2 separate regions of the Homo sapiens genome follow, and region 1 is linked to region 2. The links are contacts of gene promoters, found by promoter capture Hi-C in blood cells and fetal thymus (Javierre and others, 2016). All regions are on one chromosome and are shown on one strand. Each heading gives the region's core, a stretch centred on a gene start or on the middle of the fragment in contact. The rest is flanking DNA. Distances are from core to core; before and after follow the strand shown. Region 1 has its middle 25 kb from the start of ZNF577. Region 2 holds the start of ZNF415 (zinc finger protein 415).

Region 1 (4,143 bases), core at 1,336-3,835, 1.3 Mb before region 2:
CGTAAACAAGATATTCAAAGAGTTTTGACTTTCAGATTTTAATTTTTACCTGCAATGAGGTGTGATTCTTCTTAGCTTTCCTGCATTCCCTCCATCTGTAGGGTCCTTCTCCTGAATGAATACCCTAATGTGTAACAAATATAATTTGAGAATGATTTATCATTTTCATTACATCCACTGGTGCTGCCTACTAAATGGAAAGCTTCTAGTTTTCTAATAAACTTTTTTGACAATCACTGCACTCATAATTGACTCTCTCTTTTTTTTTTTTTTTTTTTTTTTGAGACAGAGTCTCACTCTGTCACCCAGGCTGGAGTACACTGGTGCAATCTCGGCTTACTGCAACCTCCACCTCCTAGGTTCAAGAGATTCTCCTGCCTCAGCCTCCTGAGTAGTTAGGATTACAGGTGTGCACACCACACCTGGCTATTTGTTTTTTTTTTTTTTTGTATTTTTAGTAGAGACAGGGTTTCATCATGTTGGCCAGGCTGGTCTCGAACTCCCAACCTCAAGTGATCTGCCTGCTTCAGCCTCCCAAAGTGCTGAGATAACAGGCATGGGCCAATGCGCCTGGCCAATGATTCTTCTTGTGAGATCTCTACGGTAAACGAGGGATATCTTCAAAAAAGAAGGCTTAAAATATTCATTGCATCTATAAGGTTTCTCTCCCACAAGAGTTCCAAAAGGGCCCATTACAATCATAGTATTCATGGAACTTCTATTGTGTCTGAGCTGATGTGACTAATCAAAAAAGCTCTCTCATATTCCAAGTCACTGCATGGACTTTCTTCCTTCCTGCTGGGGTTTCTGATGATTAGTAATAGCTGATTTCTGAGTAAAGCTTTTTGACATTCACTGCATCTATAGGGCCTCTTTCCTGTGTGAGTTCTCTGGTGACCAATGAGAGTTTACAAAGTAGCGAATGCTTTCTTACAATCACTGCATTTATATGGTTTCTCTCCTGTATGAATTCTCTAATGTACAGTGAGACAGGATTTAACTATGATGGCTTTATTACACATGCTACATTTGAGGAGTTTCTCACCTGTATAGGTTCTCTGTTATATAATGAGAGTTGACTTACAGGACAAAACCTTCCCACATCCACTGTATCCATAAGATTTCATTCTTGCATGGCAAGTTTTTCGATGCTTACTGAGACCTGTCTTTTGGGTGAAAGCTTGTTGACCTTCATTGCATCATAGGGTCTCTCTCCTGTGTGAATTGGCTGATGAGTCATGAGATATACCTTACTGGAGAAGGCCCTATCACAGTCTGAGCATTCATATGATTTATTTCCTATATGAGTTCTCTGATATACAATGAGATTTCCCTTTGATGTGAAGGCTTTATCACATACATTGCATTTGAAGGGTTTCTCACCTGTATGGGTTCTCTGATGTATAACAAAGTTTTTTTTGGAGGATAAAACCTTCCCACATTCACTGCATTCATGGGATTTCCTTACTGCATGATGAGTTTTCTTATGATTGTTGAGATCCAACTTCCAGATGAAAGCTTCTTGACATTCACTGCATCCATAGGGTCTTTCTTCTGTATGAATTCACTGATGCTTCATAAGCTGAGCCTTTTTCAAGAAGGCTTTCTCATAATCCAAGCAAGCATATGGTTTCTCTCCTGTGTGAGTTCTCTGATGTATAGTTAGCTGTGTTCTAACCATGAAGGCTTTATGATAGACTTTGCACCTGAAAGGTCTCTCTCCTGAATGAGTTCTGAGATGCAAAATGAGGTTCGACTTCCAAGGAAAAGCTTTCCCACATTTACTGCATCCATAGAATTTTCCTTTTCTATGAAGAACTTTCTGAGGATAACTGAGCTCAGATCTGGTCTTCAAAGCTGTTTGACATTGAATGCATTAATAGGGTATCTCTCCTGTGTGAATTCACTGATGAATCATGAATAAAGCCTTTTTTGAGAAGGCTTTTTCACAATCTGAGCAAGCATATGGTTTCTCTCCTGTGTGAGCTCTCTGATGTACAGTGAGATGTGTCCTAACCACAAAGCCTTTATCACATACTTTGCAAATGAACGGTCTCTCTCCTGAATGATTTCTTTGACATAAAATGAGTTCTGACTTCCAAGGGAAAACTTCTCCACATTTGCTGCATGTACAGACTTTCCCTTCTCTATGATGAGTTTTCTGATGATACACAAGCCCTGAATTTGTAATGAAGGCTTTTTGACATTGATTGCATCAGTAGGGTCTCACTCCTGTTTGAGTTTGCTGATGAGCAATGAGCTTTAACTCACTGGGAAGGGCTCTCCTAAAATCATGAGATTCCTGGGATTTGTTTCCTGCATGAGTTCTCTGAGGCATGGTCATGAGTAGTTTACAAGTATTCACTGCACATTCACTGCATCCATATGATTTCTTTCCAAAAAGAATTGGTTATAATTAGCAAGCTCTGACTTCTGGATGTTATGAAAGCTAGTGTACGCACAACAGAGTAAGTGAGATAACAAGAAGAGGTCCAGAAAAAGGCTTCTTTTCCCATTTACCATAAAAAGATATTAGTAAGATGGTTAAATTTGAGTAAGCTCTGTATTTTAAATAATAATACTATATCAATGTCAATATTCTGATTTTGATCACAGTATTCTGATTATGCAAAAGAATGCTCTTCTTCCTATGAAATACACACTTGGGTTTTAGGGTAGAGTTCAGAAAAACCATATGTACCTGTGTGTGGTGTGTGTGTATAGATAAAATAAAGCAAATTGGTAAAATCATATTTTGGGGAAATTTGCAAAAAGAATGTGCAAGAATTTTGTGTATCATTTTGGAACATCTCATTAAATCTAGACCATTTGGAGACAAGCATTTTCAAAAGGAGAAAATAAAAATAAAGATATTGATGAAAACATACATAGGGACACTAAGTATAATGGCCTGAATGTAAAAGAGATAAACAGTGTAATATTCACCCAATGCCATTCTGCACAGGACTCAGATTCTTGATCTAGGTGCTGGTTGCACAGTGTGCTGACTAGAAAGTTACCTAGCTGTATAATTACATTATATGTATGTTATACCAAAACATTTTTCATTAATAAGTAAACAAAAACGTTTAGGCCGAAATCAGGGAATGCTCCCTTGTAGGAGGATCCTGAAAAGAATTTGGATCTTGTGCTAACAGTAACAGGATGCCATTACCAATGATAGTGGGAGCAGGATGACATGTCCTGATTTCCAATTTAAAAGCAACATCCTGTGTGTATGTTTATCAGTAATTAACACTGACCATGTCTTAAATATTATGGCATGAATATTTTTAGGCTTGCACCCTGTGAATGAGTACAGATTTGCTACATCATATAGCATTTTTTAGACCATAATTTAGATCTTTCCATCCTCCAACTAAGATTTACCTTTTTATATGAAGCTTTAATTACTTTCCGCAACACTTTTGTCAAAATCTGAAGTCTTTTAAGAACCAAGATGTTTCTGATGTTTATTTTAATGTTCAGGGATTTTGGAGGTGAGGGGCTAGAAACACTGACTCCTGCCCCTGACTCCCGCCCCTGACTCCCGCATTTATTTTCATAAATGAAAATAGTAAAATAAATTCATTAAGGGTATTATGTGGAGAATAGAAACAAGAGTAAAGGACTGAGAGTATATTAGAGAAAACTATCATAATTTTGGCAAGAGATAATGGACATCGAAGCTTGAGTGAAAATAACTGTTAGAGAAAGGAGTAGAGGACCTCGAGATATAAGGAGAAAGTAAAGTCTAAACTTGCTAAATGGACTGGATTTGTGGGATGAGTGAAACGGTGAAGCAAGGATGACTTGAAGTTTGAGTTAGCTATTAGATCTCCAAGCAATTCCCAGGCAAATGTAGGAGGATAAGGAAATATCTAGCCTGTAGAGAGAAATCTGTGAGTCATCAACATATAAATAGCATTGTTAAGTCCATGAAATCGAAGAGGTCACACTGGGAACAAAGAAAAGAAATTACCAATGATGAAGCACCCTTACGCCCTCCAACTCTGAAGGCTTTGGGAGAAGGAGATGCCCAGAGAATGGAAAAAGTCCATCCATCACGCTCAAACAATAAGTACCCAGAAAAGAGGCCAACTTAAGTCTTAGGAACCAACATCTGTGGGAAGCAAGATAAAA
Region 2 (3,946 bases), core at 1,030-3,529:
TTACAAAAAGCAACAACACTTTTTTTGTTTGTTCTTTGTTTTTTTTTCAGACGCAGTCTTGCTCTGTCACCGGATCTCGGCTCTTGGCTCACTGCAACCTCCGCCTCCCGGGTTTACACAATGCTTTGCCTCAGCCTCCTGAGTAGCTGGGATTACAGATGCGTGTCACCATACCTGGCTAAGTTTTGTATTTTTAGTAGAGATGGGGTTTCACCATCTTTGCCAGGCTGGTCTTGAACTACTGACCTTGTGATTCACCCACCTCGGCCTCCCAAAGTGCTGGGATTACAGGCATGAGCCACCATGCCCAGCCTCAACACTTTTAATGTTCCTTTTGAGCAACGTTGTCCAATCCGCAGCCCAGGAAGGCTTTGAATGCAGCCCAACACAAATTCCTAAACTTCCTTAAAACATTTTGAGATTTTCTTGCAACTTTTTTTTTTTTTTTTTTTTTTTTTTTTAGCTCATCAGCTATTGTTAGTGTTAGTGTACTTTATGTGTGGCCCAAGACAATTCTTCTTCCAATGTGGCCCAGGGAAGCCAAAAGATTGGACACCCCTGCTTTAGAGAGACACTATGTAGTGACAGTCTTTCACTTTCTGCCCAGCTTTACTCTCCCACTCCCCCTTCCCCTCCCCCTGCCCCAACGCCAGGGAAGGGGAAGAGGATGACCTGTGGAATTAATGAGTCAAGTCACTTCCCTCTGCCTTAACAGGGATTGCAAGTGGAAGCTAACTTCTGATGCCATAATTATAAAATGCACCAGCCTTAATAGACAGGAGCTTTGCAATTCTCATCATCTGTGCATTTTAAACTTATAAAGACAGAAATCAACAGGTCAAAAGGTAGTCATCACATCCAGTCAGTTCACAACTCACCTGGACCTGGGGTCCCCCTCTTTCCTCATTATGGTGTGTTTCCCTCCCTCGTTCCGTACATCGCTCTCATTCTCACCTTCTTTCTCTAGCTCTTTCCTTCCCCTTTATTTTCTCCCTAGGATTCTGCTCATTTTGAGCCCCTCTCCTCTCCTGCTGCTCCTCCCCGTCTTCCCTCTATTCTTTCTCTTCCACTTGCTCTTTCCATTCTTGCAATGTATTTAATTCCTCTTTCTTCCTAATCTTTTCATTGTCCCAGTCTCCACATATTTCTGGCTCTTTCTTCCCCATTTCAGCACTCCCTGTTAAATTCCCTCTTCCCTGTTACACACCGTTGTCCCCACTCTTTGGCACCCCCAGATCCCAGGCCTCCCCGTGCTGTGGTTCTCCCTCTGCTTCTCCTTGTCATCGGCTGCCCCCTCTTGCTGTCCCGGTACCACACTGCCCTGTCTGCCCTGGCTCCAAATCCCTTCTGCTCTCCCCCACTCTCTGTCTGAGGAGCCTCCTCCTTTGCTGCCCCTCTCCCTACCTGGCTGTCCTTCATCTCTCTGGATACTGTGCTTTTTCTCGAAATGTGTCTAGTTACTTTTCTCTCCCTGCTACTTTCTCGGCTTCTTCTTCCACTCTTACTGTCTCTGAAAATCTCTAACCATCCTCTACTTTGCCATCTGTTTATTGGTTTGCCTCATTCCTTCCTGTCTCAGGTTTTCTACTGCTCTCTCTGTCCCTCGATCCCTTTGGCCCACACATTCACAGGACGGTTTGGGGTAAGACGCCTGCATCCTGGAGGAGCGCATTTTCCACGGGGTGGAGGAGGGCAGGCAAGAACATCGGGTGTCACAGGACAGGCCCTGAGCACCTCCCCAGCGCGGGCTCAGGGGAGGCCTGGGGAGCAGCGGGGCCCGGCACGAGGAGGAGGGAGGTGGGGCGCGACAGCGCCTTCAGACAGGGGTGGGGTCTGCAGGATCCCAGGACCAGGCAGAGGACGCAAGGCTCCCCGGGACTGCGGCTGCAGCTGCGGCGCTGCGCTCCAGGGGCCGACGAGGGCAAGGCTGGGAGGCACCCAGGACGGGAATACACCTCTTGGGTGAAGACTTTAAAAAGCCCGGGGATGGGGGAGGGGGTCAGGAAAAGGTTTTAAGCGGGAGGAAGAAGCAAAAGGCCGGGGACGGGGAGCAGCCTCAAAGCGACTTCAACCCAAAGGGAAGCGACTCCGGACCCACACTGCGAGGCCTGTATTCACCTGGGGTGGAGTGTACGGGGATTTTAAGGGCCGTATCGACCCTGGACATCGGCTGTGGAAATGGGAAACAGGGAGCGCAGGTTTAATCTACACAGAGGGTCACTCACGCTCGACGCCGTCACCTTCACCCAACGCGATCCGTTTCCGGGCCTGTAGGAAACTGCGCATGCGCGGAGAGAAGAGCCCGGGCAGCCTGAAGGAATGGCTGGAGTGGGCGGGGTCTGCGCCGCTTTAAGGTAAAAAAATCAGAGTTGTGTGGGCCACTTATGGTGGAAACCAAAATGTTTTCCACTTACCAAGTTGAAAACGGTTTATGTTAAAACTATTTTGCCTGCAGGTTGGACCCGATCCTGCTAGGGAGTCTCCTGCAGCTTAGCAGTCCGGGAACTGGGATTTCGGTGGGGAATCCAAAACTAGCAGTGATTGGATCCATAAAAGTTACCAAAAAACAAAAATGAAGTGTCTGGAATCACTCCACTGGATTTCAAGACTACCAATATAGGAAAGGTAATAAAAACTGTGTGGTTTTGGGGCAATAAAAGACATATGGATTGATGCAATACAGTAAGAGAGTACAAAAATAGCCTCTACAGGTACTTCCAACTGATTTTTGACAAAGTTACCAAGGGAATTGAATGAAGAATTTTTAAAAACTGGTGAGGGGCTAACTTAATATCCACAGCAGGAAAGAAGTCATCTCTACTCAAACTTCACAACCGTACAGACATTAGTTCAACATTGACCATAGCCTAAATGTAAAATATCAAACCATAAAATGGTATCCTGTAGGAGACTGAAAGAAAAAATTACTCACAATAAAATCGTAAGAATCAAGAGCTTGTTCAAAAATTCTTAGCCATAGCAGCAAAAGCATGATTCATTAAAGAAAAAAAAAATCAACTGGTATTTACCAAATTAAAAACTTTTGGTCTGTGAAAGACCTTCAGACGATGAAAGAAAAGGTATTTGATATGGTTTGGCTCAGTGTCCCCATCAAATCTCATTTTCAAGTATAAACCTCAGGTGTTGAGGGAGGGACCTGGTGGGAGGTGACTGGATCATGGGGGTGGTTTTCCCCAAGCCGTTCTCATGATAGTGAGCTCTCAGGAGATCTCATGGTTTAAAAATCTGTGATAGTTCCTCCTTTGATCGCTCTCTCTCCTGCTGCAAGCAAGACGTGCCTTGCTTCGCCTTTGCCTTCCTCTATGATTGTAAGTTTCCTGAGGGCTCCCTAGCCATGCGGAACTGTGAGTCAATTAAACCTCTTTTGTTTATAAATTACCCAGTCTCAGGTTGTCACAGGAGGGTTTAGGCAGTGTGAAAATGGACTAATACAGTACTGAATAATAGAAAATATTTGCCTACCATATATCTGACATAAAACTGGTATGTGGAATGTATAAAGAATCCTAGAACGACTTAAAAAAAAAGCAAAATAATCAAATTAGAAAATGGATAGAACTATGAAGAGACATTTCACTGAAGCAGATATACTGAGATAAATGGGCACATAAAAAGATTTCCAACATCACCATCCATCAAATCTCAGACCTCAGCATATTCTGCTTTCTCCATGTGAACCCCTGGATGCTGTCAGAGATCATGAGAAACACAGGAGCTTCTACTGAACAGTCCAGTTGATGTGTATTAGCAACCTGTAATTGTTTTTGGAAACGAACAATGGAAACACAGATACAAAAATATTCTCAGCTCAAGAAATATGCACTTTGTCATTATTAGTGATTTTTTTTTTTTTTTGAGACAGAGTCTTGTTCTGTCACCCAGGCTGGAGTGCGGTGGTGTGATCTCAGCTTACTGTAACCTCTAC

The links. The method cuts DNA at HindIII sites, captures the fragments that hold promoters and counts their contacts. A CHiCAGO score of 5 or more calls a contact.
Region 1: a fragment that was not itself captured here is called in contact with the fragment with the promoter of ZNF415 in region 2 in 2 of 17 cell types (total CD4 T cells and total CD8 T cells); the score reaches 7.1 in total CD4 T cells.

Annotation. Positions count from the first base shown.
Region 1 is chr19:51,860,855-51,864,997 of GRCh38, forward strand. It overlaps a transcript of ZNF577 not described here and the pseudogene LOC100419706. Among named protein-coding and RNA genes, the nearest start is that of ZNF577, 25 kb to the right of the region's middle. The HindIII fragment of the contact is 1,634 bases long and covers 1,769-3,402 here.
Region 2 is chr19:53,130,631-53,134,576 of GRCh38, forward strand. ZNF415 (zinc finger protein 415) reads right to left here and starts at 2,280. Exons shown (of 4, transcript NM_018355.4): 1 at 2,226-2,280. The HindIII fragment of the contact is 7,510 bases long and covers 1-3,946 here.